Linked DNA regions of Homo sapiens: region 1 is linked to region 2. Evidence: promoter capture Hi-C in 16 types of primary human blood cells and fetal thymus (Javierre and others, 2016). All regions are on one chromosome and are shown on one strand. The core of a region is centred on a gene start or on the middle of the fragment in contact, and the rest is flanking DNA. Distances in the headings are between cores, read along the strand shown. Region 1 has its middle 76 kb from the start of SCAF8. Region 2 holds the start of CNKSR3 (CNKSR family member 3).

The links. The method cuts DNA at HindIII sites, captures the fragments that hold promoters and counts their contacts. A CHiCAGO score of 5 or more calls a contact.
Region 1: a contact is called between a fragment that was not itself captured here and the fragment with the promoter of CNKSR3 in region 2, in 3 of 17 cell types (endothelial precursors, erythroblasts and M2 macrophages). The highest score is 8.1, in endothelial precursors.

Annotation. Positions count from the first base shown.
Region 1 is chr6:154,656,051-154,659,685 of GRCh38, reverse strand. No RefSeq gene overlaps it. Among named protein-coding and RNA genes, the nearest start is that of SCAF8, 76 kb to the left of the region's middle. The HindIII fragment of the contact is 2,108 bases long and covers 1,169-3,276 here.
Region 2 is chr6:154,509,270-154,512,686 of GRCh38, reverse strand. CNKSR3 (CNKSR family member 3) reads left to right here and starts at 2,002. Exons shown (of 13, transcript NM_173515.4): 1 at 2,002-2,624. The coding sequence starts at 2,573. LOC101928868 (a long non-coding RNA gene) reads right to left here and starts at 1,896. Exons shown (of 2, transcript XR_001744422.2): 1 at 1,725-1,896. The HindIII fragment of the contact is 4,325 bases long and covers 1-3,409 here.

The sequences.
Region 1 (3,635 bases), core at 973-3,472, 150 kb before region 2:
GTCTCGAACTCCCAACCTCAGGTGATCTGCCTGCCTCAGCCTCCCAAAGTGTTAGGATTATGGGCGTGAGCCACCGTGCCCGGCCCATTGACTCTATTATTGCCATTCATGTCCAGCTAGTTGGTAGGGACTTTAAAGTCTCAGTGTCTCCAGCACTGGCAGAATCATGTCAATTTCTCTTGAACCTCTTTAGTAGAGAATTATGATTGTGTGTGTGTGTTCTCTAATCTTCCTTCCCACGAACATAGTCTGCCTTTCTATTTGTAATCTGTTTTCAAATATCTTAGTGTTTTAAGATTTTCTTCATATAGGTGTTACACATTTCATCTTTAATTCCTAAGTGTTTTATTTTTGTTTATTTTAAGTAAAACAACTTTTTTATTGCATCTTCTAAATGATTATTGCCTATATAAATAAAGACTTGATTTCTGCATGTTAATTTTTATATCTAATCAACCCTATGGCCTTCTCTTATTTGAAATAACTTTTTAGTTAATTTACTTGGGTTTTATGGGCCAAGAATCATTTAATCTTCAAATAGTGATACTTTTATATCTGCCATTCAAATTTTTATAACCATTATGTTTTTCTCTTGTCTAGTTGTACTATCTAGTGCCTCTAATACTGCGCTAAATAAAAACGGTGGTACGGCCAGGTGCGGTGGCTCACGCCTGTAATCCCAGCACTGTGGGAGGCCGAGGCAGGTGGATCACAGGGTCAGGAGTTTGAGACCAGTTTGACCAACCTGGTAAAACCCCATCTCTACTAAAAATCCAAAAATTAGCCAGGCATGGTGGCGCGTGCCGGTAATCCCAGCTACTCAGGAGGCTGAAGCAATAGAATCGCTTGAACCCGGGAGGCGGAAGGTTGCAGTGGGCTGAGATCGGGCCACTGGACTCCAGCCTGGGCGATAGAGTGAGTCTCCATCTCAAAAAAAAAAAAAAAATGATGGTAAAGGACAACCTTGTCTTTTTTCCTGTTTTCAGCAGAAATCCTTTTAGTGTTTTCCTCTGAAGGCTGATCTTGGCTTGTTGGTTGAGCTGGACAGTGTCTTGTTGAGGAAGCATCCACCTAGACATGTTTATTTTCTATTTTATTAGACTTATGTGTTTTGTGCAGGCAACAAAAGTAAAAATAGACAAGTGGGACTACATCAAACTGAAAAGCTTCTTCTGCACAGCAAAGGAAACAATGAGCAGAGTGAAAAGGCAACCTACAGAATGAGCGATAATATTTTCAAGGTATATATCTGACATGAGGTTAATATATAAAATATGTAAAGGACTCCTACAACTCAATAGGGAAAATAACAACAACAACAAACAAATAACCTGACTGAAAAATGAGCAAAGGACCTGAATAGACATTTCTTTTTTTTTTTTTTTTTTTTGAGACGGAGTGTCGCTCTGTCCCCCAGGCTGGAGTGCAATGGCATGATCTTAGCTCACTGCAAGCTCCGCCTCCCGGGTTCACGCCATTCTCCTGCCTCAGCCTCCCTAGTAGCTGGGACTACAGGCGCCCACCACCATGCCCAGCTATTTTTTTTTTTTTTTATATTTTTAGTAGAGACGAGGTTTCACCATGTTAGCCAGGATGGTCTCGATCTCCTGACCTCGTGATACACCCACCTCAGCCTCCCAAAGTGCTAGGATTACAGGCATGAGCCACCGCGCCCGGTCCTGAATAGACATTTCTCAAAAGAAGACATACAAATGGCGAACGGGTGTATAAAATAATGCTCAACATTACTAGTCATCAGGAAAATGCAAATAAAAACCACAATGAGATATCACTTCACATTTGCTAGGGAGACTATTATTGAAAAAGAAAAAAAGGATCACACGTGTTGGTGAGGATGTGGAGAAACAGGAGACCTTGCACACTGTCGGCAGGAATGTAAAATAGTGCATCTGCTATGAAAACCTTATAGAGGTTCTTCAAAAAATTGAAAATAGAACTATTATATGATCTAGCAACCCCACTACTAGGTTTTTATCCAAAAGAATTAAAAATCAAGATCTCGAAGAGATATTAGCTCTCCCATGTTTACTGCAGCACTATTTACAATAACAAAGAGGTACAAACAACCTAAATGTCTGTTGATGTATGAGTGGATTAGGAAAATGTGGCATGTACATACAGCGGAGTATTATTCAGCCTTAAAAAAGAAAATCCTGCCATATGTGACAACATGGATGAACTTTGAGGACATTGTGCCGAGGGAAAGAAGCCAGTCAAAGAGGGACAAATACTGCATGATTCCACTTATCTGAGGTATCTACAGTAGTCAAATTCATGGAAGCAGAGAGGAGAATGGTCATTGCCAGCTGCCAGGGGGTAGGGGAAAGGGAAAATGGGATTTGCTGTTCAACAGGTATAACTTTCAGTTCTAGAGATCTGTACAACATTGAGCCTCTGCTTAACAATATTGTGCACTTAAAGTTTTGTTAGGAGGGTAGATGCCATGTTAAGTTTTCTTACTAAGGTAAAAAAAAGTAATAGAACAAAGCGTATGCACTGAGCGTAGGGTACCACCCAGGCTGGATAGTTGTATGGACCAGCACAGCACTCCAGGGGCATTTGGTAAGTTCATGGAGACAGAGAAGTGCCCTGCACACCCCCTTCAGGCCCTCATCCCAGTTTTTCATGAGACAATATTTGCGTGAAAGTCCTATCTGTTACATGCTTAATGTAGTCAAGAGACTGAAACAAATTGCAGCTGCCTTCCTAAAAGTAGTAGAAAGATAGTTGCAAAAAGGGCTGTAGCCACTTTAAGAAAAGGTAGTTTTTTAAATCCTATTCCACAGAATTATCACCATCATCATCATCATCATCATCATCATCATCATCACTGTGCCTGTGCCTGTGGGGAATGAGGAATATTTATCTAGTTTTAAAATTTTTTTTTGGAGACAGGGTCTCACTCTGGTGCCCAGGCTGGAGTGAATCATAGCTCACTGCAGCTTCAACCTCCTGGGTTCAAGACAGCTCCCGCCTCAGCCTCCTGAGTAGCTGGGACTACAGGCACACACCACCATGCCTGGCTAATTTTTCAGTTTTTTTGATGGGATCTCACTGTGCTGCTCAAGCTGGTCTCCTGGGCTCAAGTGATTCTCCCACCTCAGCCTCCCAAAGTATTGGGATTATAGGTGTGTATTAGTCAGGGTTCTCTAAGGTGATGCAACTAATAGGATCTATCTCTCTATACATAAAGGGGAGGCTGTTAAGTATTAACTTACAGGATCACACGATCCCACAATAGGCCGTCTGCAAGCTTGAGGAGCAAGGGGAGCCAGTTCGAGTCCCAAAACCAGAGTACTTGGAGTCTGATGTTCAAGGGCAGGAAGCGTCCAGCACGGGAGAAAGATGTAGGCTGGGAGGCTAGGCCAGTCTCTCCTTTTCACGTTTTTCTGCCTGCTTTATATTTGCTGGCAGCTGATTAGATGGTGCCCACCAGATTAAGGGTGGGTCTGCCTTCCTCAGCCCACTGACTCAAATGTTAATCTCTTTTGGCAACACTCCCACAGACACAGCCAGGATCAATATTTTGCATCCTTCAGTCCAATCAAGTTGACAATCAGTATTAACCATCACAAGGTGTGAGCCACCAGGCCTAGACAATTTATCTACTTTCT
Region 2 (3,417 bases), core at 753-3,252:
AAAATTCCACGGCAAAATCATTAATATTTGACCTTTCTTTTATAATTGTGGGGACCGTATGGCCCAGTTTATTCATGTTATTCCAATGTAATTCTTGATAGTTGCTTCTTTCATGCTCAAGAATATTTTGATTTGGAGGTAAGTTATGTGGTCACCCTAATCATAATCAGAAATCACACAACAGGCAGTGATTGCTGAAACAAAAGGTGTGCATCAGGTTGGTTACCCTTTCCAGTGAACCAGTGTCAAGGTCCTTCTCTCTGCTGACTGCTGTAAAGATGGTTAATGCTGGATGTCATTAAGTTTAAAGGTCTTTTTTTTTTTTTAAGGACAACTACTATATCAGGAATTTTGTCATTGCCTTTGCCAACTTGTGTGGTCTGCCAGTCACTTTCGCTAGATGAAGAAAAAGAATCACTATATTTGATAGTTGTGTGTCTCTGTGTTGCCCAGTCCTCTAGGGGAGTTGAATGGGAGGTGGGTCTGATGTTTTGCTTTTTAAAAATGTTTCTTTTGCTTGGATGCTCCAGCTCATCAGATGCTAGGCTGGCTGCTAGCTATTTTTCCACATGTGCGTCCAAACAGACCTGTGTAAGTAGCACATATCACACGAATTCAACAAATACTGAATGAATACAGTGGCTGGCACATAGGAAGCATTCCCGGATATTTACTGAATGAATAAATACCAACCTTGCCTTTGGTCCCGTGCTGGGTGCTACAAGTTAGGTGGTAGGAAGAAAGGGAGGAGAGAAAACTCTATATGAGATCAAGTAGGTTCTGCCCTCAAGGGGTTAATAGTCTCCAAGAGGAAGATGTAAATAAATAACCGTAATTGAAAGTAAGAATCATTCAGTGCCAAAAAGAGTGGGAGGAAGAGGTTGCTGGGCGGGGCGGGGCGGGGGTGGGGGGTTGGGGGGGGTGTTGGGGGGTGAGGGGAGGGGTGGTGGCGAGGGTGGCAGGGGTTGGGGGGGCGGTTAGGATGCAGGGAGAACTTGAAGGAGAGGCAGGCATTCAAATTAGATTTTCCCCCAGTTTAGCATTAACTCTGGCCCCAGTTGCAGTCCATGAATGTGGAAGGGCCCTCCCCTGCCAGGCGCTGAAATTGTGCACGAGCTATTTTTTTTTTCTTGGCTAACAGCTTTCCTCTCACGGTTAATGACTAATCCCAAGGAGCATTAGCTCACTCTGTAAATATGAAATTATAATATAGCAAAATATAACGCTAAAAGCCATCAATCTAATTTTAGTCGCAAAGTTGAAATTTCATAGCAATAGCATTAAAAGAGTTACATTGTTACGATTTCAGTCAACATATAAATGAAATAAAATTGTTCTGGCCTGGCGCGGTGGCTCAGGCCTGTAATCCTAGCACTTCGGGAGGCCGAGGCTGGCGGATCACCTGAGTTCAGGATTTCGAGACCAGTCTGGCCAACATGGTGAAACCCTGTCTCTACTAAAAATACAAAAATTAGCCGGGCGTAGTGGCAGACGCCTGTAATCCCAGCTACTCCGGAGGCTGAGGCGGGAGAATCGCTGGAACCTGGGAGGCAGAGGCTGCAGTGAGCTGAGATCGCGCCACTGCACTCCAGCCTGGGCGACAGAGCGAGGCTCCATCTAAAAAAAAAAATTGTTCTACTTTAAGAAACCTAAAATGACGGCTTAATGGCAGAGTAGTATTACGATATAAAGCATTTAAAATGAACAGAACATGCAGATCTTACTTTTTTTTTTCTTTTCTTTTTTTTTTAGTGTATTGTTGCTCACAGCGAGACAGAGTGTTCTGCTACCCACAGGGCCAGGGCCTCACACAAACCAGCGGGCTCTCCAGGGTGCGCGCGCGATCTACAACCCGCCCCTTGAAAAGGAAAGCGGGGCCCGGGACGCTGCGGGTGTGAGCCGGACCGGCTTAGAGAGGGAAAGTAACCCGAGTCCGCCGCTTCGGGCGGACCCGCCCCCTCCCACGAGTTTCCCTAGACCCTCGGCCCCGCCCTCTCTTTTATTCGGTTTGCAGCAACCGGAGCTGAAACTTTGCAACCCGAGCGCGCACGCTCTGCGCTCGGCCCTGCCAGGGCGGCACGGGAGGGCGGCGCAGGAGGTGGGACCTGCGCCGGGAAGGCTCCGGGACGCCAGCGCACGCGGAGCGGGGACCCCGGAGAGCCAGCAGGCGAGAAGACCGGCCGAGGGAGAGCCGATCGCGCCTCGAGAGATCCGAGGAAGTGGTCGCGGGCCGGGAGGCTCCCGTGCCGAGCCGAGGCCAGGGGTCTGGGGTCGCAGCCCGGCGTGCCTGCAGCTGCCGTCGCTCGGGAGCAGCAGCTGTGCCCGGGATCCCGGCGGCGGCGGGGGAAGGAGGAGCTGCAGCTGGACTGTGGCAGCTGGAGGGAGAGGGCCGGGCTCCCCTGGCGGAGCCGCGCTGGGACGACTGGCTGACCGCGGCCATGCAGTCTTGACGGAGTCGCTCGGGCGCAGGGGAGCAGCCGCGGGCGCGCCCTCCCGGGAAGGGGCACCGGAGCGCAGGCAGCAGCACTTTATCTGCGACTCTCCAGCCCAGCGAGAGGCGAAGCGGTTTACCATGGAACCCGTGACCAAGTGGAGCCCCAAACAAGTGGTGGACTGGACTAGAGGTGCGCGGGCCTTGGGGGGGTCCGGAGTCCTCCAGCCTCGGGGATGGGGCGGACGAGGAGCTGGGGAAGAGGGTACTTGGCCCTTCCTCCCGGCGAGAAGCGGTGAGGGCACAGCCCGGTGACAATGCAAACTTCTGCCGAGTGGCCTGTGCGCTCCTATCTCTCGTACCTGCTCCGAGCTCTTCCTTTCCAGGGTGCGGATTGTGGCAAGCCGAGGGGAGCCCTATCTTTAAACCAGGGAGTAGGGGTGGCCTTTCTGTGGCGGTTGAGGGCTGGGGATGCCGATCTCGGGACTCGGCACTCGGGCCGGGGGGCGCTCTCCCTGCCTGGCCCCGGTGCGGTGCCCGGCGACCCGGGGGCCCGAGTGCAGAGGCACAAGGTGCCTTTGTGTGGGTGACTCCCGCGGGACCTCGTCCATGCCGCCTGCCCAGAGCCGTCCGCAGGCGTGACAGGGCTGTCGGACAGGTAGAGGGAGACTCCGGCGGGTCCGCCGAGCCTGTCTGTTTTTGTTGGAGAAGGCGAGAGGGCCGCGCAAAAGCCAACACCATAGCATTTGCGCCAGGGAGAAACCTCGAGCCAGGACTCCCCGGGAGGCAGTGACTTTTGCTCCGGGAGGCGCCAGTATCCCCGGTGGCGCTGCATTTTCAGGCCACATGTAAGCACTGGGAAGGAGAAATATAATTGTTTGGAACCACTGTCTTGATTCATACAATATTTGGGATGAGGAAGGCAGTGGGGCTGGGGCGGTGGGGGGGTGGTGGGGGGAATGAGCAGAGGTAGAAGCTTGTCCTCC